Regions from separate parts of the Homo sapiens genome. Here all the other regions are linked to region 4. The links are contacts of gene promoters, found by promoter capture Hi-C in blood cells and fetal thymus (Javierre and others, 2016). All regions are on one chromosome and are shown on one strand. The core of a region is centred on a gene start or on the middle of the fragment in contact, and the rest is flanking DNA. Distances in the headings are between cores, read along the strand shown. Region 1 holds the start of HAS1 (hyaluronan synthase 1). Region 2 overlaps ZNF175 (zinc finger protein 175). Region 3 overlaps FPR1 (formyl peptide receptor 1). Region 4 holds the start of SIGLEC14 (sialic acid binding Ig like lectin 14).

The links. The method cuts DNA at HindIII sites, captures the fragments that hold promoters and counts their contacts. A CHiCAGO score of 5 or more calls a contact.
Region 1: the fragment with the promoter of HAS1 here is called in contact with the fragment with the promoter of SIGLEC14 in region 4 in 1 of 17 cell types (neutrophils); the score reaches 5.3 in neutrophils.
Region 2: a fragment that was not itself captured here is called in contact with the fragment with the promoter of SIGLEC14 in region 4 in 2 of 17 cell types (naive B cells and total B cells); the score reaches 8.6 in naive B cells.
Region 3: a contact is called between a fragment that was not itself captured here and the fragment with the promoter of SIGLEC14 in region 4, in 2 of 17 cell types (neutrophils and monocytes). The highest score is 6.8, in neutrophils.

What each region holds. Positions count from the first base shown.
Region 1 is chr19:51,721,062-51,726,499 of GRCh38, reverse strand. It overlaps HAS1 (hyaluronan synthase 1), which reads left to right and starts at 2,509. Exons shown (of 5, transcript NM_001297436.2): 1 at 2,509-2,575. The coding sequence starts at 2,567. The HindIII fragment of the contact is 33,518 bases long and covers 1-5,438 here.
Region 2 is chr19:51,577,732-51,583,664 of GRCh38, reverse strand. ZNF175 (zinc finger protein 175) reads right to left here. Exons shown (of 5, transcript NM_007147.4): 3 at 2,148-2,274; 4 at 1,783-1,878. Among named protein-coding and RNA genes, the nearest start is that of ZNF175, 9.4 kb to the right of the region's middle. The HindIII fragment of the contact is 179 bases long and covers 2,630-2,808 here.
Region 3 is chr19:51,745,061-51,751,299 of GRCh38, reverse strand. It overlaps FPR1 (formyl peptide receptor 1), which reads left to right. Exons shown (of 2, transcript NM_002029.4): 2 at 4,295-5,527. The coding sequence starts at 4,306. The coding sequence ends at 5,358. Among named protein-coding and RNA genes, the nearest start is that of FPR1, 3.7 kb to the left of the region's middle. The HindIII fragment of the contact is 6,274 bases long and covers 229-6,239 here.
Region 4 is chr19:51,641,733-51,648,074 of GRCh38, reverse strand. SIGLEC14 (sialic acid binding Ig like lectin 14) reads left to right here and starts at 1,250. Exons shown (of 7, transcript NM_001098612.3): 1 at 1,250-1,352; 2 at 1,435-1,818; 3 at 2,015-2,293; 4 at 2,545-2,598; 5 at 4,039-4,296; 6 at 4,403-4,538; 7 at 4,678-6,342. The coding sequence starts at 1,316. The coding sequence ends at 4,720. The HindIII fragment of the contact is 8,795 bases long and covers 1-6,342 here.

The sequences.
Region 1 (5,438 bases), core at 1,260-3,759, 77 kb before region 4:
ACTGTTGAGGATTAAAGCCCTGGTTATCCTTCCTCAACCGCACTCTGGTTTTAGAAACATCTGGTTTTATACAGCTGCTCCACCCGAGCAGGGCGGGGTGGGGGCTGGGCAGCCAAATGCCCCACTTCTGGGGAGGAGCCTGCGCTGCCCCCTCCCACTGGGCGGAGGACTCACCCTCCCCTTCTGCTCTGGGCTGGCCTCAGATCATCTGAGGACCCATCATCCTGACACAGCCAGACACCAGGCAGCCCGGCTCCCGGCAACAGCGTCAGACACAGCCCGGCCCGCCCTGGTGGGTGGGAAGGGCGTTCGAGCTCCTTGGGAATGCACCTTCTCCCTGACAGGCCCAGGCAGAGGCTTGGCCTGGCGCAGCCTCCTCGGGGAAAACCCCAGGGTGTGAGGACTTGGTGTGAGGACTTGGTGTCTGGCAGGGGAGAGCTCCGGGACAGGCTGGAAGAGATGGAACTGCAGGGAGAGACGAAGATGTAGAAACAGAGAAATGGAGAGAAACTGAATGAGAGAGACAGAGACAGAGAAACACATACAGAGATAGAGCCTTACAAAGAGATAGGTGCGGTGGCTCACGCCTGTAATCCCAACACTTTGGAAGGCCAAGGCAGATGGATCACTTGAGGTCAGGAGTTGGAGACCAGCCTGGCCTACATAGTGAAACCCCATCTCTACTAAAAATACAAAAAATTAGCCAGGTGTGGTGGTGGGCGCTTGTAGTTCCAGCTACTCGGGAGGCTAAGGCAGGAGAATCGCTTGAACCCGGGAGGCGGAGGTTGCAGTGAGCCGAGCTCACGCCACTGCACTCCAGCCTAGGTGAGAGAGTGAGACTCCGTCTCAAAAAAAAAAAAAAAAAAAGAGAGAGATGGGGATGCAGAGAGACGGAAGGAGGATAGAGACAGAGCTAGAGAGGGAGGGAGATAGAGGGAAAAAGAGACAGAGAGAAAGAGACACACACACATGGACACACAGTGAGAAAGTCAGGGAGAGGCACTCAGAAAGAAAGAGAGCCACACAAGAAGAAAGTCAGGGAGACTTCAGAAATGCAAAGGGACAGACACTCCCAGGTAAAAGCAGAGAGAGAATGGCTGTGAGGGGGGATGAGGAGGAGAAACAGACAGGAATACACAGAGGCAGAGACCCAAATAGAGGGACCGAGAAACAGAGATGGGGTGACAGATACAAAATGACAGAGATTTGGGGAGGGACAGACGAGGAGAGAGAAGCACGGGGGAATTTCTCTCTGCTGCTCCATGTCTTTCAGCCTGTCCTGGAGCTGGCCCGTGCCAGACACCAAAGGTCGTTGGAGTCACAGGCAGGGAGAAAAGAACGAGGCAGCTACCGAGGCAGCTACCAAGGCCGAAAGTGAGACATCAATAGTTCACAGTAAGAGGAGCAGAGAGAAGAACAGAATTAGATACAGATAGTTTTTTTAAAAAATTCATGGAAAGAAGGGCATGTAAACAGACATTTATCACAGATCTGGTCCTGAGGGGCTGGGGTTCGGGCACCCCAGGTCCCGCATCTCTTTTCACCCTTCCTCTGACTCAGTTTCCCTGATGGGTGACAGCACTGACAGACCCCGGCTGGCTCCCCAGGGTCAGCTGACCGACAACTCTCTGTGTTCATCCCTGAGTCCCTGGGGATACAAATCCCAGCGCCCCAGCTCTCCACCCCAGACCCTGGTGCACACACGCAGACCCACGTCAGTTAGGCGCTGAATGGACAGATGTTCACTCACAGCTCCGGTTCCAGGCAGCCGTGCCTCGGGCCAGCGTACACACAGGCACACCCACAGCACGCACGTGTGTGAGTTTCGTTCCATCTGCCAGTTGCTGAGACATGTCCCTGGGGGGCCCAACCCAGAGATGGATTCTGGGGACAGGAGAGGCGGCTGTGGGGAGAAGCAGGGCGGGGGTGACTGGGGAAGGTGAGAAGGGGGAGGTGGGGAGAGCTTTAAAGCAAGAAGAGAAAGAAATGAGGGTGAGAGGAGGCAAGAGAAGTGGAGAGGAAGAAAGGGATGGAGAGAAAGACAGAAACTTGGAGAAATGTGGTAATGGGGAGAGAGATGAGGGTACCAACAAAGAGATGAGGAGAAATAGTGGGTTAGGGAGAAAGAAAGGGATGGAGGGAAATACAGGGATAGGGGATGGGGGGATGAGGGGAACCCCCAAAATGCAAGTGAGGTGGAAGAGAAAAATCAGGGGAGACAAGGGACGAGAGGGGGGAGGAAGAGAGAAGAAGACATAGAGGAGGGAGGGAGAGGAGGGGGAGTGATGGCAGAGAGGACTAGAGGAGGGGCGCGGGTAGACATGGGGGCCTGGGAAGGGAGGCCCGTCTGGCTGAGGGGGGTGGGAGTAATAGCGGGAAGCGGGTGGAGCTGCCCGGCTGGGCCGTGACCTCAGAGCCCCTGGCCCAGCTTAGCCTGACTGACGTCAGCGCTCGCTCCCGCCCCCGCCTGCGCTGGTCTTCAAATGACCCCCCTCCAGCTCTCTGGCCACAGAGAGGCTGGGAGAGCAAGCCGGAGAGAAGAGAGAGCCCGGCCAGACCCACTGCGATGAGACAGGTGTGTGTGTGTGTGTGTGTGTGTGTGTGTGTGTGTGTGTATACAGCCATGTGGGGAAAACTACTGCCATATGTGTGACCACGTGTGTTGGGGAACTGTGTGTGCATGATTTCATGTGTGTATCCATGTGCCTGACAGTGACCATATGTGTGTAGGGGACAGTGAGCATGTGAGGCTGAGTGTGCAGGTCTGTGTATACATTGCCCTGTGTGAGCGGCCATCCCAAGTACATGTAGGTGAGACGTGCCATGTCCGTATTTCTGTATCTGCGTATCTTGCTACAAACTTGTGTATGTCTATGTTCCCTGGGAGGCAGAGAGAAAGAGGGAGTGCGACAGTGAGCGAATGAAAGAGACTGAGTGAGAAAGAGAGTTGGATTTGCCTGTGGCACATGGGAATGGATTTCTGTTTCATGCGTTCAATAGCTATTAAGTTGAACCAAATGAAATCGCCGATACTGAGCCACTCTAAACTTGGAAGAATAGCAATTTCATCTGGTTCAGTATCAGCTTGACAGTCACCTACTATTTCTCTTGAAATCTTCCCTGTGCATCCCATTGCCCCAGACTCTCAGTTGGGGCTCTGTGTGTTTGTGGCCACGTGGACATCCTTTGCTGGTGTTGCTTTTTCCTGCTGAGGGGTGTGTGTCTGCAGGTTCACCTGTGTGGCCGTCGGTGGGGGTCACGGGATCGCTGTGTTTGGCCTGAGTGGGTGTCTCGGGTCATCCTGTAGAACACGAGTAATTTCATTCTGTGTGTCACTCATCATGTGTGAGTTCACGTGTGGGGGAGTGTGTCTACACGTGTGTTCATCTGTGTTTCTGGAATCAACTCTCTGGATCCCCAGCATGAATTGAGCCATCCCTAGGAACTCAGGCAAGGCCAGGTTTGAAGCAAAGGAAGAGAGAAGGGGGATTCGAGAAGAAAGAATAATGTTTAATGTTGAGAGTTTAAAAGCTGTACCTCAGTTTTGTCCTCTAGAAATGTAACGAAAACCACAATATCTAATTTAAAATTTTCTTGTGGCCACATTTGAAAAAGTAAAAACAAACAGGTGAAATTAATTTTAATAATATATTTTTATTTAACCCAGTGTGTCAGGGGCCAGCACATTTTTTTAAATAAAGGGCCCAATATTAAATATTTGAGGCTTTTGGGGGCCATCTGGTCTCTTTTGAAAGTACTCAACTTCGATGTGGTAAATGTAGAATCAGCCACAGATGATGTATAAACAAATGAATGTGGTTGTATGCAAATAAAACTTCCTTTAAGGACACTGAAATTTGAATTTCATATTTTTCATGCTCCACAAACTATTATTCTTCTTTTGGCTTTCAAAAACCATCTAAAAACACACACACAAATTCTTAGCCTGCAGGCTGCAGCAGGTCTTAGCATGCCGACCCCTGCTACATATAAGATATGATCATTTCAATATGTAATCAATACATAAATGTTAATGAGCTATTTTACTTTCTTTTCCCCAGACTTGGCCTTCAAAATCCAGTGTGTTCATAGCACTTCTCACTTAGATGCTACCTTTTCACTGGAAATACCTAATCTGTGTTTAGATTTTATAAGATTTACAATTATAAAAGGGGCATCGTAGATGCAACTTGTTCCAGACATATTTAAAATCTTTCCAATAACCGAATCAAGTAAGAGTTTTTAAATTTAAATGAATTAAAATTAAATAAAATTTAAAACTCAGTTCCTCGGTGATACTGGCTGCATTTCAAGTACTCGGTAGACACATGTGGCTGCTGACACCTGTGTTGGACACAAAGATCTACATCTTAACGACGCATTTAAATAACCCACAGTAAGCCTTGAGGCAGGAACTGGTGGCATAGGAGGCAGTTTAGCGTAGAGGGGACGCCAGAGCCAGACTGCCTGAGTTTTACTTCTGACTCTGCTTATTACCTGAGTGACCTTGGGTAAAAGTATTTGCCTCTCAGTGTCTCAGTTTCCTCATCTGTAACAGAAGACAGTGAAGGTACCTGCCTTATAAGATTGTTGTAGAGACCGGGTGCAGTAGCTCACGCCTATAATCCCAGCACTTTAGGGGGCCAAGGCAGGAGGATCGCTAGAGCCTGGGAGTTCGAGACCAACTTGAGAAACACAGCAAGACCCTGTCTCTATTATTATTATTATTATTTCGAGATGGAGTCTCGCACTGTCACCCAGGCTGAAGTGTAGTGGTGCCATCTTGGCTCACTGCAACCTCCACCTCAGGGGTTCAAGCAGTTCTCCTGCCTTAGCCTTCTGAGGAGCTGAGACTACAGTCGTGCGCCACCAAGCCTGGCTAATTTTTGTATTTTGCTTTCGCCATGTTAGCCAGGCTAATCTCGAACTCCTGACCTCAGGTGATCCACCCGCCTCCGCCTCCCAAAGTGCTGGGATTACAGGCGTGAGCCACAGTTTCTGGCTCCCTGTCTCAATTTAAAAAAAAATTTATATATATATATTAAGGTTGTTGTACAGTAGTGTCTGGCACACAGAAAGTACTTTTTCCTCTGATTCTGGGCTCTTCCAGCAACATTTACTGGGGCACCTGGCTCTGCTGGGGAGTTGGGCAGTGGAAAAGGAGAACCAGGCTATGCCTCTGGAAAGTCAGAGAGAAGAGTCCTCTACCATGGGCTGCTGATCTTGTGCAAGCCACTCCTTCTGGCCAATCAGTCCTCAGTTTGGCCACCTGTATGGTGGCAGAGCACTATCTGTCCCCCAGGGCTCTCCCGAGGGCTAGAGGTTTAGAGATTCAGTTCCTAGGGTTCAAATCCAGGTTCCTCTGCTTTCCAGGGACAACCTTGGGCAAATTGCTGAACCTCTGTGTGACTCAGTTGCCTCATCTGTACAACGGGGAT
Region 2 (5,933 bases), core at 1,470-3,969, 66 kb after region 4:
AAAAAGAAACAAAATAGCCATGTTTGGGGTCATAAAATCTGTCAGTATCTTGACTAAACTCAAAAACCTGAAATCAACATATCTCACTGGGAACAAAATTGTCTAAATATGAGAAAATGGGGATCTAGTTTGTTGTAATACCACTGGGATTAAGAAAAAGGGTCACTTTTTTCTTAATTAAAACAAGAAAAACTGGTAAGAATTCCAAAGTAATAAATTAAATTAGAGGACTGTGTTTCTGAGCCCAGAAACAGAAAAATCTCACAAAATTTATCAGGTGAGAATTCCTTATTTGGATGATGATGATTCCAATTTCTGATCTCCCAAAATTAAGGAAGTGAGTCATCTCATGGGAACTGTCCTCCGTGGAGCTAAGTAAGGTAGCAGAACACAGTTTAAGCACAGGGACTAGAGGTACTGATATATAAATCATTAGAATAAAAATATGAGGACTAAGAGTTCAGAATGGATGGGTCCTTTAAGTCAATTCCTGTGGGAAAAGATGCCCATAGCCGGGCACGGTGGCTCACGCCTGTAATCTCAGCACTTTGGGAGGCCAAGCCAGGCGGAACACCTGAGGTCGGGAGTTCGAGACCAGCCTGACCAACAAGGAGAAACCCCGTCTCTACTAGAAATACAAAATTAGCCGGGCATGGTGGTGCATGCCTGTAATCACAGCTACTTGGGAGGCTGAGGCAGGAGAATCACTCAAACCTGGGAGGCGGAGGTTGCGGTGAGCCAAGATCGTGCCATTGCACTCCAGCCTGGGCAACAAGAGTGAAACTCTGCCTCAAAAAAAAGAAAAGATGCCCATATGGAAGAACAGGGCCCCAAGCTAGAGGTGCCACAACTGGGAGGAAAAGAAGACAGCAGATCCAGCAAAGAAAAGAAAATAAATAAAATTAGGGGCAAAAAAACTGGAAAAAAAAGGCAGAAAACTCCATGGACGTAAAGAGATAAGCGGTAAGAAAATGCAACAAACAAATGAAAAAGCCAATCAGATAACAGATAAGATGAGAGGCTCTCACCATTCAGTTATTAGAAAAATAACACTTAAGCAATGAAACAGGCTGGGTGCGGTGGCTCACGCCTATAATTCCAGCACTTTGGGAGGCCGAGGTGGGCAGATCACAAGGTCAGGAGATCGAGACCATCCTGGCTAACAGGGTGAAACCCTGTCTCTACTAAAAATACAAAAAATTAGCCGAGTGTGGTGGCGGGTGCCTGTAGTCCCAGCTACTCGGGAGGCTGAGGCAGGAGAATCACTTGAACCCAGGAGGCAGAGGTTGCAGTAAGCCAAGATCGTGCCACTGCACCCTAGCCTAGGTGACAGAGTGAGACTCTGTCTCAAAAAAACCAAAACCAAAAACAAAAAAAAATGAAACAGCCCTTTCACCTATCAGTAGGGCTATAAATTCACCAATTTTGTTAATGCCAAGTGTTAGCAAGCAAGATGTGCAAATGCAAATCCTTGTGCACTGCACATGGGGAGTGTGAACTGGTGCAGCCCATCAGAAGAGCAATATGGTTGATTTAGTCAAGTATACTTATCTCCAGGACCAGGCAATCCCATTCCTGAGTATTCACCAATGGAAAATTCTTAAGGCAGCCCCTATAGGACATTTAACATTTATAGCACATTTACAGTGTTTGATGGGAAACTGGGAGTAGGAGGCAATCTACGGGCCATCACTGGGGGAATGGAGGGAATAGAAAAGTATGGTAGACTGGTAATGGTTCCCTGCAAAGATATCTACATTTGCCCGGGTACAACTTACTCACCTTGACACCTCTGATGTGAGACTTCAGCCTCCTCCACACGCGGCTCCTTTTCTTTTAGCATTCTGAAGATGACCTCTGGGTTGGGAATGTGATACCCTGTTAATTAGAAAGGATACTGGATTTGGGTGTAGCTTCTTCAGTTTTAGAGGCCATTCAATGAAGCTTTACACTGGCTCATTAGAAAAGTCAACATTTTCCACTGGGCACAAAATAATACTAGAAGGTGCCCAAAAGAAACAAACAATCCAGGACAAACCGATAAAAGAGTCATGACATACTTTGATATCCCACTGCGTTCTGCAATGAGGAGGAAGGAAATCTCCTCAACAGGATCCAGCCAAGATTCCCAGGTCAGTTGTGCTCACCCACTGCGAAGAGATGGCTATAGAGCTCCAGCATCACATCCCGGTACAGGCATCTCTGGGCAGGGTCCAGTTGCTGCCACTCCTCCCTGCTGAAGTCCACGGTCACGTCCTCAAATGACACTGATGCCTGTAACAGTGTACCCCAGCTCACTGTGAATTAGGTCATCATTGGCGAGTGGGGATGGCACATATAGGAGGAACATGCTTTTAATGATTTTCACCACGATCCATCACAGAGGCTTCCCACCAAACACCTATTTCACATTTTTAGGGATTTAAAAAAAAATAAGAGAAATATCCTCCATCCACTGTACACCTACATTCATTCATTCATTTTTTTTTTTCAAAAATGAGGCCAGAAATGGGTTCCCTCTAAGTCCTTTAGCTAATTTAGGAATAACCAGCATGATGTTGACGAAGCAACTACATGTGAGGCTGTAGTTGAGCTGGGTTCTGGTGCTCAACACAGAATTACATAAGCTTCTACTCTTGCAGCAACTCAGAGACTTGGAAGACATGTAAATACAAAAGCTCAACTACAGGGTTAAAAAGGGAACATGGTAGAAATATATGCAGAGGACACTGTTGGGGAAGGGCAAATTAGGGAAAGGCAAATTCTACCTAGGAGTAGAAGGTAATGCTACTTAGAGTTGGTGAAGCTTACGCTGGAAGTAAGAACTGTGATGCAGGATGTGTGAAGGAAATCATTTTCCAGAAAAGAGCATGAATAAAACTAGAGAGGTAGGAAAACACTGTGAATTCAGGGAGAAGCAGACAGCTCTGTGTAAGATAAGAGGCGACTATGTCATGTTTGGAAGGTGGTTACCATCCAAGCTCCAAAGAAGTGGGCTGGTGCCTCAATATATAATGGGTATGGATTATTTATTTTAATGAACGGACTGCCATTTCAGGATTTTAAGTGCAGGGAAGAGATATGATCATATAATATTTCAACAAGATGATCTCTCCTGTAATAACTAATATTAGGTTAATGAAAGGACTGATGATGGAAAGATCTTCATTACAGAAGTACTGCAGATGATAAATGCAGCCTGAAGGACAAAACAAAAATGTCACTGTTACTGATCACCAATGACTGCTAAAACCATATGAAAGACTGATGGGTCTTTATAATGGAGGAGTAGGCTGACAATATCTGAACCCAATCATCAATTTTATCACAAGGAGAGAGATAACCAGATATTAAAGTGCACCTAATATGATGCAAAATAAAAAAATAAAAGTAGAGAGGTAGGAAAATACGTGGTGTGCAAACTATTAAGTATCATTTCCAAAAACAAAGAAATCCAAGTGGACTCTGATCAAGCCTCTAGAGGAGAGCCATCCAATGGAAATAAAACATGAACCGTGAATGTGAGCCACACATATAACTTAAAATTGTCTAGTAGCCATGTTTAAAAGACAGATAAAATCAATTTAATGATATTTTTACTTAATCCATTATATTCAAAACATTATCATTTCTATATGTAATATTTTAATATTACATATATTAAAACATTCTATATTCTATATATTGAATATTCTATATTCAATATTTTAAAAATCATCGAGATGAGATGCTTTACATTCTGTTTTCATACTAAGTTTTCAGAAGTCAGCATATATTTTATACTTCAAGCACATCTCAGGGTGAACCAGCCGCATTCAAGTGCTCAATAGCTACATGTGGTGAGTGGCTACCATACTGGACAGCACAGGTCTACATTTAAATACCAGTTCAGAACAGATGTTGGGCATATACCCAGGGGTGGAATTCTGGGTCATGGGAAAAACATGCTCGCCTTTAGTAGAAAATTAGAAATCATTTTCCAAATTGGTTGTACCAATTTATATGCTTACCAGCAGCACACAAAATCCTTCTGGTTGCTCTGTATCCTCACCTACATTTGGTATTATCAGTGTTGGTAACTGTATGCATTTTGGTACAGGCATGGGAGTTACACTGGCAATTCCCAGATGACTAATGAAGCTGAGCATCTTCCCATGTTTACCAGCCTATTCAAGCAAGTCTCTTCTTCAGTTTTCTACTGGGTTAAAAAACACTTTTCCTCAAAAAAAAAAAATTTTTTTTGGGAGATAGAATCTCACTCTGTTGCCCAAGCTGGATTGCAGTGGCACGAGCATGGCTCACTGCAGCCTCTGCCTCTCAGACTCAAGCGATCCTCCTGCCTCAGCTTCCCAAGTAGCTGGGACCACAGGCGTGCACTACCATGTCCAGCTTTTTTTTTTTTTTTTTTTTTTTGAGATGGAGTCTACTCTGTCACTAAGGCTGGAGTGCACTGGCATGCTCTTGGCTCACTGCAGCCTCTGACTCCTGGGTTCAAGCGATTCTCCTGCCTCAGCCTCCCAAGTAGCTGGGATTACAGGTGCCTGCCAACATGCCTGGCTAATTTTTGTATTTTTAGTAGACACGGGGTTTCATTATGTTGGCCAGGCTGGTCTTAAACTCTGGCCTCAAGTGATCGGCCCATCTCTGCCTCCCAAAGTTCTGAGATTACAGGTGTGAGTCACCACACTCAGCCTTAATTTTTGTATTTTTTGTAGAGATGGGGTTTCAGCATGTTGCCCATGCTGGTCTCAAACTCATGAGCTCACACGATCCACCCACCTTGGCCTCCCAAAGTTTTGGGATTACAGGTGTGAGCCACTGCACGTGGCCATTTCTGTGTTTCTGAAGGAGTATCTCATTGTCCTGTAAACCTCTCAGGTCTTTTGTTTTTGTTTTTTGAGACAGGATGTCACTCTGTCACCCAGGATGGAATGCAGTGGTGCAATCACAGCTCACTGCAGCCTCGACCTCCGGGCTCAAGTGATTCTCCCGTGTCAGCCTCCTGAGTAGCTGGGATCACAGGCACACACCACCACACCTAGCTAATTTTTCTATTTTTTGTAAAGATGGGGTCTCCCTATGACGCTCAGGATCGTCTCAAACTCCTGGGCTCAAGCAATCCTCCCATCTTGGCCTCCCAATGTGCTGGGGTTATAGGCATAAGCCACCACGCCCAGCCGTCCTCAACGTTTTATAGGAACCTTTTGTCAGCTGTATGTGTAACAAGAATCTTTTCCCATTCTGGGGCTTGCTTCTTTTTTTTTGAGATGGAGTTTCACTCTTGTTGCCCAGGCTGGAATGCAATGGCATGATCTTGGATCACTGCAACCTCCACCTCCCGGGTTCAGGCGATTCTCCTGCCTCAGCCTCCCAAGTAGCTGGAATTACAGGCACCCGCCACCATGCCTGGCTAATTTTTTGTATTTTTTTAGTAGAGATGGGGTTTCACCATGTTGGCCAGGCTGGTCTCAAACTCCTGACCTCGTGATCAGCCCGCCTCGGCCTCCCAAAGTGCTGGGATTACAGGCGTGAGCCACTGCATCCGGCCTCGTTTTTTAAAATGAAGTAATTAACTTAAAAGTGACGAAAGTAGTTAACTTTGGAAGAAAGTGGTAGTGTTTGGGAGGTAAAGGCAGATGACTAACTATAATTACCTATGTGGAAGAAACCTGGACAAATCAGGGACAAAAGAGAGAGGGGTATGCCAGGTGCGGTGGCTCACGCCTGTAATCCCAGCACTTTGGGAGGCCAAGGCGGGCGGATCACGAGGTCAGGAGATTGAGACCATCCTGGCTAACACGGTGAAACCCCATCTCTACTAAAAATACAAAAAATTAGCTTGGTGTGGTGGCGGGCGCCTTTAGTCCCAGCTACTCGGGAGGCTGAAGCAGGAGAATGGCGTGAACCCGGGAGGCGGAGCTTGCAGTGAGCCA
Region 3 (6,239 bases), core at 2,116-4,615, 100 kb before region 4:
GAGAAGGGATAAGTGAAGGAGGGAAGTTCTTGAGTAAATGGGGGAATGAGTTTTATGGGACCAGTAGAGGGTAATTCTTGGATGGAAACACTTGTTTTCTGGTTACAGAGATGAGGGCAGAGAACAGTGATGCAGGAGCCAGCAGGAGGAGAATCTGGTGGAGCAAGAGGCAAGGGCATCAGCTTGAGGGCTTGAGTCGGGATGGGAAAGGATGTTTGGTTTGAAGCTTTCAGGAGAAAGCAAAAGAGCCCTAACGACTTTATGATGGGTCATGGGGAAATGAGTGTAATACAGAAGCAGTCACCTTTCGGATCAGTGATGAGTCTCCACGTGAAGACACTGGTTCTGCATGGTGCATAGGACCCAGTAGCGGAATACAGCCCTGCCCTCTCATGAATCTGCAGACATTGGCTGTCATTTCTCATCAAGCTCCTAGTTTCCTCTTCCGTCACACAGGGATGATGATGTATAATCAATGCTGAGTTTGTTGAGATCAGAGGCAAGAAAGTTGAGGATGTGGTACAATGATTATCAAGCATAAAGTCCTTCATCGATGGCAGCCACCAAGGCCTGTGTTCATTGCAAATCACAGGATTTTTCCCTTGAACCATAATTGGACAAAATTGCACAGGTTTTCCTCTCTGGTATGTTCCAGCTCATTATTGCAGAATCCTCATCATTCATTGCAACAATCTTCTGAACTGGTTGCCTTAGAGATTCTTGAGGACAAAGAGTCCTCAGGGTATTTTGGTGGTTGGATGGGTGGTAGGGGAGGGAGACATCTCTGAGTTGTTTCTGAGATTGTAGAGTATCAAAGTTCATTAGAAATGTGAGACACATATGTAATTTCAAAGTGTCAAGTAGGCACTTTAAAAAGGTGAAGAGAAACATGCGAACTTAATTTTAATAAAATATCTAACCTAAACTTAAATAGCCAAATTATTATCATTTTAACATGTAGTCAATATAAAAACTATTAATGAGATGGTCACAATATTTTTTTCATACTAAGTCTTTGAAATCTGATGGGTATTTTACTCCTACAGCCTGTCTCCAGTTGGACTAGCCACAATTCAAGTGCTTGAAAACCACATGTGGTGAGTGACTAGTGCATTAGACAGCTCTTCTGTGCCAGTAGCGTGGCAGGGCAGAGGCAGAAAGAGACTTTTGCTGGAATTCGACAGCCTGGGCTGTTGGGTGACTTTAAGGAATTAACTGAAATGCTCTAAGTCGCACTTTCCTCGTCTGCAAAATGGGTACCATAAAGACAGTGACCCTCATAGTAACAATTTTGAGGAAGGCTGCTGCAAGCATTAGAAGAGAAGACCAGGCCGGGCGCAGTGGCTCACACCTGTAATCCTAGCACTTTGGGAGGCTGAGGCAGGTGGACTGCCTGAGCTCAAGAGTTTGAGACCAGCCTGGGCAACATGGTGAAACCCCATGTCTACTAAAATACAATTAAAAAGAAAAATTAGCCAGGCACGGCGGCGTGCACCTGAAATCCCAGCTACTCAGGAGGCTGAGACAGGAGAATTGCTTGAACCTGGGAGGCGGAGGTTGCAGTGAGCTCAGATCACGCCACTGCACTCCAGCCTGGGTGATAGAGAGAGACTCCATCTCAAAATAAATAAATAAATAAAATAAAATAAATTAAAAAAAAGAGAGAAGGCCAGCTCTCAGCAAGAACCTGACATGCACTTTGCATACCTGATCTAATGAAATGTCATATCCAATACATATTTGGACTATTATTTCTATCACGGTCTTCTACATCCCCAAGAGTGCTGAGCCCATCCAATGGATGGAGAAGCACCTCCCATCCATCTGGCCAAGGTAACCGCAGAGACGAGAGTGGAAACAGAGTCTGTTGTTCTGACTTCTTCTAGCACAGAATCCATTGGATATAATACTTGATTATACGTCGTTTAGTATCACTCACGGATCCATTTGACCTATGTTGGAAAACTAACCAAGTACTATGCCTTGCTTCCCACGATGAGAGAGGAAAGGGAGATTTCATGACCTTAAAGAGAGAGAGCGAGCAGAATTTGGAGTGGAGAAGTTGCATATCTTTTTTTTTTTTTTGAAACGGAGTCTCGCTCTGTCGCCCAGGCTGGAGTGCAATGGCGCAGTCTCTGCTCACTGCAACCTCCGCCTCCCACGTTCAAGTGATTCTCCTGCCTCAGCCTCTGGAGTAGCTGGGACTAAAAGCACCCACCGCCATGCCTGGCTAATTTTTGTATTTTTAGTAGAGATGGGGCTTCTCCATGTTGGCCAGGCTGGTCTCGAACTGCTAACCTCATGATCCACCCGCCTCGGCCTCCCAAGGTACTGGGATTACAGGCGTGAGCCACTGCGCCTGGCTGAGAAGTTGCATACCTTATAGTTCTTATGCAGTGTTATGGGTGAGAGAAAGTCTTAGTCCACGTTTGTGTGACACTAGGTCACTGAAGCTGTCGCCCACTGATTTTCTGATATCTTATGCTCTTATTTTTCCTTTATTAAATTGATGGTAAAATACAAAAAGTTAACCATTTTAGGCTGGGCACAGTGGCTCACGCCTATAATCTCAGCACTTTGGGACGCCGAGGCGGGCAGATCACCTGAGGTCAAGGAGTTTGAGACCAGGCTGGCCAACATGGTGAAACCCCATCTCTACAAAAATATAAAAATTAGCTGGGCATGGTGGCAAGTGCCTGTAATTCCAGCTACTCAGGAGGCTGAGGCAGGAGAATCACTTAAACGCGGGAGGCGGAGGTTGCAGTGAGCCAAGATCGCACCACTGCACTCCAGCCTGGGTGACAGAACGAGACTGCGTCTCAAACAACAATAAAAAAGTTACCCATTTAAATGTACAATTCAATGGCATTAAGTACATCTACAGTGTGTTGCAACCATAACCATTATCTAGTTCCAGAACTTTTTAATCACACCAAGCAAAAACTGCATATTCATTAAGCAACAATTCCCCACTTCCTAGTTTCCCCAGTCCCTGGCAATCACTAATCTGCATTCGGTCTCTGTGAGTTTGGCTACTCTGGATATTTCATACAAGTGGAATCATACAAAATGTGACTTGTGGTGTCTTCCTTCCTTCTCTCCTTCCTTCCTCCTTCTTTCCTTCCTTTCTTTTTTCTTTCATTTTAGAGACAGGGTCTTGCTTTGTTGCCCAGGCTGGAGTGCAGTGGCTCAATCATAGTACACTATTAACCTTGAATTCCTGGGCTCAAGTGAGCCTCCCATCTCACCCTTCTGAGTAGCTAGGACTACAGGTGTGTGCCACCACATCCAGCTAATTTAATTTAATTTTGTTGTTGTTGTTGTTAGAGATGAGGATCTTGCTATGTGGCTCAGGCTGATCATGAACTCCTGAGCTCAAGCAACCCTCCTACCTCGGCTTCCCAAAGCTCTGAGATGACAGGCGTGAACCACCACATCCAGCCCTCTTTTGTTTAGAGTAATGTTTTCAAGGTTCAGCCACGTTGTAGCATATATCAGTGCTTCATTGTTTTTTATGGCAGAATAATATTCCATTGGGTGGATAAACCACATTTTGTTTATCCATTCATCTGTTGATGGACATCTGGGTTGTTTCTACCTTTTGGCTATAGGGAGGAGTGTCTCTATGAACATTTTTGTTTGAATACATGTTTTCTCTATACATCTTTGGCCCCATATTCTCCTCTTGGAGGTCAAGGACCCTATCTTCCTTAGCCATTTAATCTCCCTGGTAGGGGCTTGCATGTTAGCAATTATGAGGATGTGTCATAAGATGCAATCTTGGCCACACGTGGTAGCTCACGTCTGTAATCCCAGCACTTTGGGAGGCTGAGGTGGGTGGATCACCTGGGGTCAGCAGTTCAAGACCAGCCTGGCCAACATGGCAAAACCCCACCTCTACTAAATATACGAAAATTAGCCAGGAGTGGGGTGGTGCATACCTGTAGTCTCAGCTACTCAGGACGCTGAGGCAGGGGAATTGCTTGAACCCGGGAGGTGGAGGTTGCAGTGAGAGATCACGCCACTGCACTCCAGCCTGGGTGACAGAGCAATATTCCATCTCAAAAAAAAAAAAAAAGATGTAATCTTGCCCAACAGGTACAATAAAAGATTGCCAATGTATAGATGTGGGCATGTGTAAGGGACAGTGGTGAGGATGTTCCGGCTGTTGTGGGAGCTCTAGGGGAAGGTGAGAAAGCTAGGAGTGGGAAAACTGGCAGGGGCAGAAATGAGGGGGTGGGGAAATGGTACGGAGGTTCATAACTGAGGAATGACCACGACTGCACTATTTCAGGAGCAGACAAGATGGAGACAAATTCCTCTCTCCCCACGAACATCTCTGGAGGGACACCTGCTGTATCTGCTGGCTATCTCTTCCTGGATATCATCACTTATCTGGTATTTGCAGTCACCTTTGTCCTCGGGGTCCTGGGCAACGGGCTTGTGATCTGGGTGGCTGGATTCCGGATGACACACACAGTCACCACCATCAGTTACCTGAACCTGGCCGTGGCTGACTTCTGTTTCACCTCCACTTTGCCATTCTTCATGGTCAGGAAGGCCATGGGAGGACATTGGCCTTTCGGCTGGTTCCTGTGCAAATTCGTCTTTACCATAGTGGACATCAACTTGTTCGGAAGTGTCTTCCTGATCGCCCTCATTGCTCTGGACCGCTGTGTTTGCGTCCTGCATCCAGTCTGGACCCAGAACCACCGCACCGTGAGCCTGGCCAAGAAGGTGATCATTGGGCCCTGGGTGATGGCTCTGCTCCTCACATTGCCAGTTATCATTCGTGTGACTACAGTACCTGGTAAAACGGGGACAGTAGCCTGCACTTTTAACTTTTCGCCCTGGACCAACGACCCTAAAGAGAGGATAAATGTGGCCGTTGCCATGTTGACGGTGAGAGGCATCATCCGGTTCATCATTGGCTTCAGCGCACCCATGTCCATCGTTGCTGTCAGTTATGGGCTTATTGCCACCAAGATCCACAAGCAAGGCTTGATTAAGTCCAGTCGTCCCTTACGGGTCCTCTCCTTTGTCGCAGCAGCCTTTTTTCTCTGCTGGTCCCCATATCAGGTGGTGGCCCTTATAGCCACAGTCAGAATCCGTGAGTTATTGCAAGGCATGTACAAAGAAATTGGTATTGCAGTGGATGTGACAAGTGCCCTGGCCTTCTTCAACAGCTGCCTCAACCCCATGCTCTATGTCTTCATGGGCCAGGACTTCCGGGAGAGGCTGATCCACGCCCTTCCCGCCAGTCTGGAGAGGGCCCTGACCGAGGACTCAACCCAAACCAGTGACACAGCTACCAATTCTACTTTACCTTCTGCAGAGGTGGAGTTACAGGCAAAGTGAGGAGGGAGCTGGGGGACACTTTCGAGCTCCCAGCTCCAGCTTCGTCTCACCTTGAGTTAGGCTGAGCCACAGGCATTTCCTGCTTATTTTAGGATTACCCACTCATCAGAAAAAAAAAAAAAAGCCTTTGTGTCCCCTGATTTGGGGAGAATAAACAGATATGAGTTTATTATTGACTTCTTTTTTGATTTTGGACCTCAGCCTTGGGTGGTCAGGGTGGGAAATGATAGGAAGAAGCTGTCATCTGCATCCTAGTTTGCCTGAAATGAACCCAAATAATACCCATTATTATTAGTCCTGAATTATGAGTAGTGAATGATACCCATCATTCTGGCATCATGATGAGTAGTGTCCACTTCCATTCTGAAAAGTGCCCTGCTGTGAAAAATAAATTATATAGTCATCCTAGGTAAATGAAGGAGGAGGGAGAAGTGTGAAAGAGTATGGCTTAAATCAGACAAGATATACAAGAAGATACTTTATATAGGGCAGGAGCGGTGGCTCATGCCTGTAATCCCAGCACTTTGGGAGGCCGAGGCAGGCGGATCACCAGGGGTCAGGAATTCGAGAACAGCCTGGCCAACATGGTGAAACCCTGTCTCTACTAAAAATACAAAAATTAGCTGGGCGTAGTGGCAGGCTCCCGTAATCCCAGCTACTCAGGAGACCGAGGCAGGAGAATCGCTTGAACCTGGAAGGCGGAGGTTGTAGTGAGCCAAGAAAACGCCACTACACTCCAGCCTGGGTGACAGAGAGAGACTCCGGCTCAGAAAAAAAAAAAAAGAAGATACTTTATATAAAGTCCTCAGCCTTTATCGGTCAACAACTCAGTAAAAATATAAAGTTATCGAGATGTCAGCTGAAGACCCCTCATTTCCTTG
Region 4 (6,342 bases), core at 1-2,500:
TGGAGTGCAGTGGTGCGATCTCGGCTCACTGCAAGCTCCACCTCCCGGGTTACGCCGTCCTCCTGCCTCAGCCCCCCCAGTAGCTGGGACTACAGGCGCCCGCCACCACGCCCGGCTAATTTTTTGTATTTTTAGTAGAGACGGGGTTTCACCATGTTAGCCAGGACGGTCTTGATCTCCTGACCTCGTGATCCACCCGCCTCGGTCTCCCAAAGTGCTGGGATTACAGGCGTGAGCCACTGCGCCCGGCCTTCTTTTTTTACTGTTCTTCGTGGAGCAGGGGTATGCATAAGCAGTGTGCCCAGAGGAGCCCCCACTAGGATTTTTGACTTACCTTCTCATCCTAAGAGTTTATCCTTTGCTGTATCTCCAGCTCCTAAAACAGGGGGCCTGGTGCACCATAGGCGCCCATGAAGCATCAGTTGAATGAGTGAATTCTCGGGGCCAGACACTGTCCTAAGCACTTTACACATGAGACCTCACTGAATCCCCACACAGCAATTCTATTATTGTCTGCATTTTTCAGCTGAGCAAACTGAGGCACAGAGAGGGTAGGTAACTTTTGTAAAGTTCAACAGCCGGTAGGTGAGGGGTCTGGGTTCACACTTGGTATTCCATATCCTCAACGTTCACATTTCAAATGCCCGGCTCTCAAGCCTCATCTGGCTGTCAACATCAGGGATGGGGTCTGACGCTGCCTGGGACAAGGACAAGGATGAGATGAGGTTCCCAAATCCAACTGGTGGTGGGGACCACATCTCTCTTGACTGCTAAGGACCCGGTCATGTCCACCTGATGTGTTTGTCCCTGACAACTTGCCTTCCCTCTGGAAAGAGGAAAGTCTTCCCCACCTGAAACCCCCAGCGTGTGCTTCCCTCACCACAGCTCCTATCATGTCATAAAGGATTTATTCTCCCATCTCGCTGAGGGTCCCGAGGCCCTGACTCCCAGGGAGCTGGCCAAGTGGTGTTCTCCTTCCTATGTAGACAAAGGTGCATAAGGAAAGTGCTGCAGCTATGGGACCTGGTGACCTCAGGAGTCTAGACTTACAAGTCTGGACAAGCCCCTCTGGGGGCCTCAGTATCTTCACCATCGGCGTCCAGTGGGGGTGGGAGCAGAATGGCTTCCCAGCCCCAGCCTCACCCCAACAGCACGTGATGCCCAAGTTCCCCTTCTGTGCGCGTCCACAGCTCTCACTCACCCTCCGGCTTCCTGTCGGGGCTTTCTCAGCCCCACCCCACGTTTGGACATTTGGAGCATTTCCTTCCCTGACAGCCGGACCTGGGACTGGGCTGGGGCCCTGGCGGATGGAGACATGCTGCCCCTGCTGCTGCTGCCCCTGCTGTGGGGGGGTGAGTGAGCTGAGGGAGGAGGGACAGGCACAGGGGTGAGAAGGGGGGCTGGAGCTGCAGCTGAGCTTCTGTGTCCCCCCAGGGTCCCTGCAGGAGAAGCCAGTGTACGAGCTGCAAGTGCAGAAGTCGGTGACGGTGCAGGAGGGCCTGTGCGTCCTTGTGCCCTGCTCCTTCTCTTACCCCTGGAGATCCTGGTATTCCTCTCCCCCACTCTACGTCTACTGGTTCCGGGACGGGGAGATCCCATACTACGCTGAGGTTGTGGCCACAAACAACCCAGACAGAAGAGTGAAGCCAGAGACCCAGGGCCGATTCCGCCTCCTTGGGGATGTCCAGAAGAAGAACTGCTCCCTGAGCATCGGAGATGCCAGAATGGAGGACACGGGAAGCTATTTCTTCCGCGTGGAGAGAGGAAGGGATGTAAAATATAGCTACCAACAGAATAAGCTGAACTTGGAGGTGACAGGTATGGCAGGAACCCTAGGAGAGGACCCTGGGACGTGGAGACCCCCGTATGAGAACAGGGACAGGAGTTGGGCAGGGGCGGCTGGAGGAGGTGTAGGACTTGGGGCAGGTCGGGGCCTGAGGCCTGGCCACTCTCGGGGTCACACCTTACGTCCTCAAGCCCCTGGGGCCCAGGTATCTCCCTGTCTCCTCCTCAGCCCTGATAGAGAAACCCGACATCCACTTTCTGGAGCCTCTGGAGTCCGGCCGCCCCACAAGGCTGAGCTGCAGCCTTCCAGGATCCTGTGAAGCGGGACCACCTCTCACATTCTCCTGGACGGGGAATGCCCTCAGCCCCCTGGACCCCGAGACCACCCGCTCCTCGGAGCTCACCCTCACCCCCAGGCCCGAGGACCATGGCACCAACCTCACCTGTCAGGTGAAACGCCAAGGAGCTCAGGTGACCACGGAGAGAACTGTCCAGCTCAATGTCTCCTGTGAGTGGTGCTGGGGACACAGCTGAGTCCCCAAGGGCAGTGGGAGTGAGGGGGGTGTGTGTGTGTGTGTGTGTGTGTGTGTAGAAGAGAGAGAGAGAAAGAGAATGATAACCAGGGAAAACTCGTGTGTGGGCAGGAAGGACAGCGGTCCCCACCTGGTGGGTTTCTGTGGCCCCTCCTTGGGTCCCTCCCGGGACCACGCCCATCCCTCTTGTCACCTCTGAAGCTGGTGCTGTATCTTTCTATCCCAGATGCTCCACAGAACCTCGCCATCAGCATCTTCTTCAGAAATGGCACAGGCACAGGTAGGAAAGACCCTCTTCCCTCTGGGGCTGTGATGGGAGCCTTCTATTAGCTCAGGGTTCAGCATTGGGAGAGGAGACCCTCCCTCACCCCTCAGCCCCTGGGTCTGGGTCCTTCCTGCTCCCAACCCCCCAATCCCAGTCACTAAGATCTTGCACGAACAGACCTAGTATTTCTTTTGGCTTCTCCCTTTTCTCTGCTCTCTTTTTCAGATTTATTTTTTCATTGTGAGAAAATACACATAGCACAAAATTTGTCATCTTAGCCATTTTAAAGAGTACAGTTCAGCAGTGTTAAATGTGTTCACATTGTTGCAAAACCAAACTGCAGAGCTCCTTTTATCTGGCAAAACTGAAACTTTGTACCCACTGAACAGCGACTTTCCACTTCCCCCTCCTGCCACCGAGCAGTCACCATTCTACTTTTCTGTCTCTGTGAGTTTGAGTACTCAGGACACGCTGTTCCCTTTTCTTGAATTTCTGCCTGCTCCGATGTCCTCTGATGCATGCCCTGCTTCATCTCTAACTGATCGTCCTTTTTGGGAGCCTTCGACTTTCCCACCTCCCACAGCTCTGTCCCAGAACCCAGTTCTTCCCCTCCACATTCCTGAGTAATCCGATCTCTCCTTGACCCTGTCCTGATGCCTCCCACAACTTTATATCCAGCCCTTTCTCTGAGGCACAGATCTGCACATTTAGCCACCTCCCTCGGATGCTTCTCGGCTCCTCCTTCCCTGTTGATCCCAGGGCTGTTCTGGACATCGCTGTAGACAGCACCCTTTCTCATCAGCTGTTTCATGAGTCCGCAAGTCTTAACACCTTTACTTCACCAATCATCACTTCCCTCCTCATCCCCTTGGTTCCAGGCCCAGCTCAAGTCTCGTGCTCAACCCTGGCCCATTGCCCCAGCCTCCTCCCAGCCTCCCTGCCTCCTATCCCACTTCTCTCCAGTCCGGGACCTACTTGGCTCCAGCAGGATCTTTCTAGATCCAGTGCTAACTCTGTTTCCCTTGCTTATAGCCCCCTCTTGCTTTCCAGGATAAAGCCCAAGGCCCTCAATCTGGCACCCAATGCTCCAAAAGATCTGAGCCTGCTTCTACCTCCATTATCGTGTCTTGGGAGCTCTGGGTCCTCCCTGACAGGTTGCGGATCTAGGAGCCTCTTTCCTCGTCTGCCTGTCTCAGTTCTTGGCACGTCTGCACCTGAGCTGCCCATCCACTTCTCCTTAATGTGAGAACTCCTCCTCATCTGTCTTTTCTCAGCTCAGCCACCTTCTTTCTGGTAGCCTGACCTGATCACCAAGTCCTCATCCTTTCACCCATGACTAGCCCATTCTCAGCACTCACCACACAGTCTTGTCTTTCTTCTTGCAGCTCAGTGGGAGGAATGAGGGAGAATTGGGCCTCCCAGCTCCACTCACCTGGCTGTGCTTCTCTTTCCCAGCCCTGCGGATCCTGAGCAATGGCATGTCGGTGCCCATCCAGGAGGGCCAGTCCCTGTTCCTCGCCTGCACAGTTGACAGCAACCCCCCTGCCTCACTGAGCTGGTTCCGGGAGGGAAAAGCCCTCAATCCTTCCCAGACCTCAATGTCTGGGACCCTGGAGCTGCCTAACATAGGAGCTAGAGAGGGAGGGGAATTCACCTGCCGGGTTCAGCATCCGCTGGGCTCCCAGCACCTGTCCTTCATCCTTTCTGTGCAGAGTGAGTTGCAGGACAGGTGCTGAGGGTAGACAGCCCGGTGAGGTATTCAGGTTGGTGGGAGGGACTGAGGCCTGGTAACAGCACCTTACCTTCTCCTTTCTCCCAGGAAGCTCCTCTTCCTGCATATGTGTAACTGAGAAACAGCAGGGCTCCTGGCCCCTCGTCCTCACCCTGATCAGGGGGGCTCTCATGGGGGCTGGCTTCCTCCTCACCTATGGCCTCACCTGGATCTACTATACCAGGTGAGCCGGACTGCCTGTCTCCAGGAAGCTCCTGAGTTCCAGGTGGGGCTGAGCTGTCCTGCCCCAGGACAGCTCAGCCCCACCTGGAATTAGAACTGAAGTGGCTGGTGCTGATCTGAGGCCCATGTTGGCTCTGCAGGTGTGGAGGCCCCCAGCAGAGCAGGGCTGAGAGGCCTGGCTGAGCCCCTCCCGCTCAAGACAGAACTGAGGTGTGGACACTTAGCCCTGTGGGACACATGCAGGACATCACTGTCAGCTTCTTTCTGGAAGCTCACATCCCACTGACTACCCCTCTTTTCCTTCCTGCCCCATACCCCTTCTACTTATTCCCCTCTGCTTGTGAGTCTTGCCCCACCACACCTGCATCCCCATCTGCACCCCATCCCCTCTCCACCTGCCCTTCTCTTCCCTCTCCATCCACCATCTCCAGCCCTGTGAAGGGAATGTACTTTCGGTCTTATACCCCCATTACCCATTACCCAAAAGTTACCTTTTTTTTTTTTTTTTTTTTTTGAGACAGAGTCTCACTCTGTTGCACAGGCTGGAGTTCAGTGGCACAATCTCCGTTCACTGCAACCTCCACCTCTGGGGTTCAAGCAATTCTCCTGCCTCAGCCTCCCTAGTAGCTGGGATTACAGGTGCCTGCCACCACATCCAGTTAATTTTTTTTTTTTGTATGTTAGTAGAGATGGGGTTTTACCATGTTGGCCAGGTCTCGAACTCCTGACCTCAAGCAATCCACTGCATTGGCCTCCCAAAGTGCTGGCATTACAGGTATGAGCCACCGTGCCTGGCTGCCAAAAGTTACCTTCTTAACACTTGAATTTCTGGTCTCCTCAGCTTCCCTATCCATATAGGCACAGAGAGGCAGCATTTGTTTTCCAGTTAAAACTCTACCTCATTGTGATTATTATCCAATACAATTGTTACAAAATAAGTAAAACTTTTATGAAACAATACAACATAACTGATTTTACTCTTTAATGCCTCTGTGAGAGTTTGTAGACAAAAATTATGTCTTTTTTTTTTTTCTTTGAGACAGAGTTTCTATCTTGTTGCCCAGGCTGGAGTGCAATGGCAAAATCTCAGCTCACTGCAACTTCTGCCTCCCAGGTTCAAGTGATTCTCCTTCTGTCCATATACAAGAAGGCAATACCTGTATTGTCAGGTTCTGTGCATCGTATAACTGGAACCAAACATATTTGCTTTAGGGTCTGCTTTCATTTCTTCAGTGTGGTTTTCCCAGTTTATCCACGTTGTTACACGTATCAATAGCTCATTCTCAGTTTTGGTGGGGTTTTTTTTGCTTTTAATATCGTACAGTCAGCCTTCTGTATCCACTGGTTCTGCATTTTCCCTTTAATCACTTTTGCTGCACCACAAAAGTTTTGTTATGTTGTATTTTTATATTAGTTCAAAATATTTCCTTCTTTCCCCTGAGATTTCCTTTGAATTCACGGATTGCTTAGAAGTGTGTTGTTTAATTTCTAAGTGATTGCAGATTTTACTGGTTTTTTATTTTTAAACAAATTGTTACTACTTTCTTTTTAAGTTCCATTTTAATAAATACACATGCTTGATATGATTTTTTTTAACTTTTAAGTTCAGGGGGCACAAGTGCAGGTTTGTTACATAGGTAAAGTGTCATGGGAGTTTGTTGTACAGATTATTGCATCACCCAGATATTAAGCCTAGTACCCATTAGTTATTTTCCTCATCCTCTCCCTCCTCCCACCTTCCACCCTTTGAAAGGCCCCAGTGTGTGTTGCTCACCTCTATGTATCCATGTGTTCTCATCATTTAG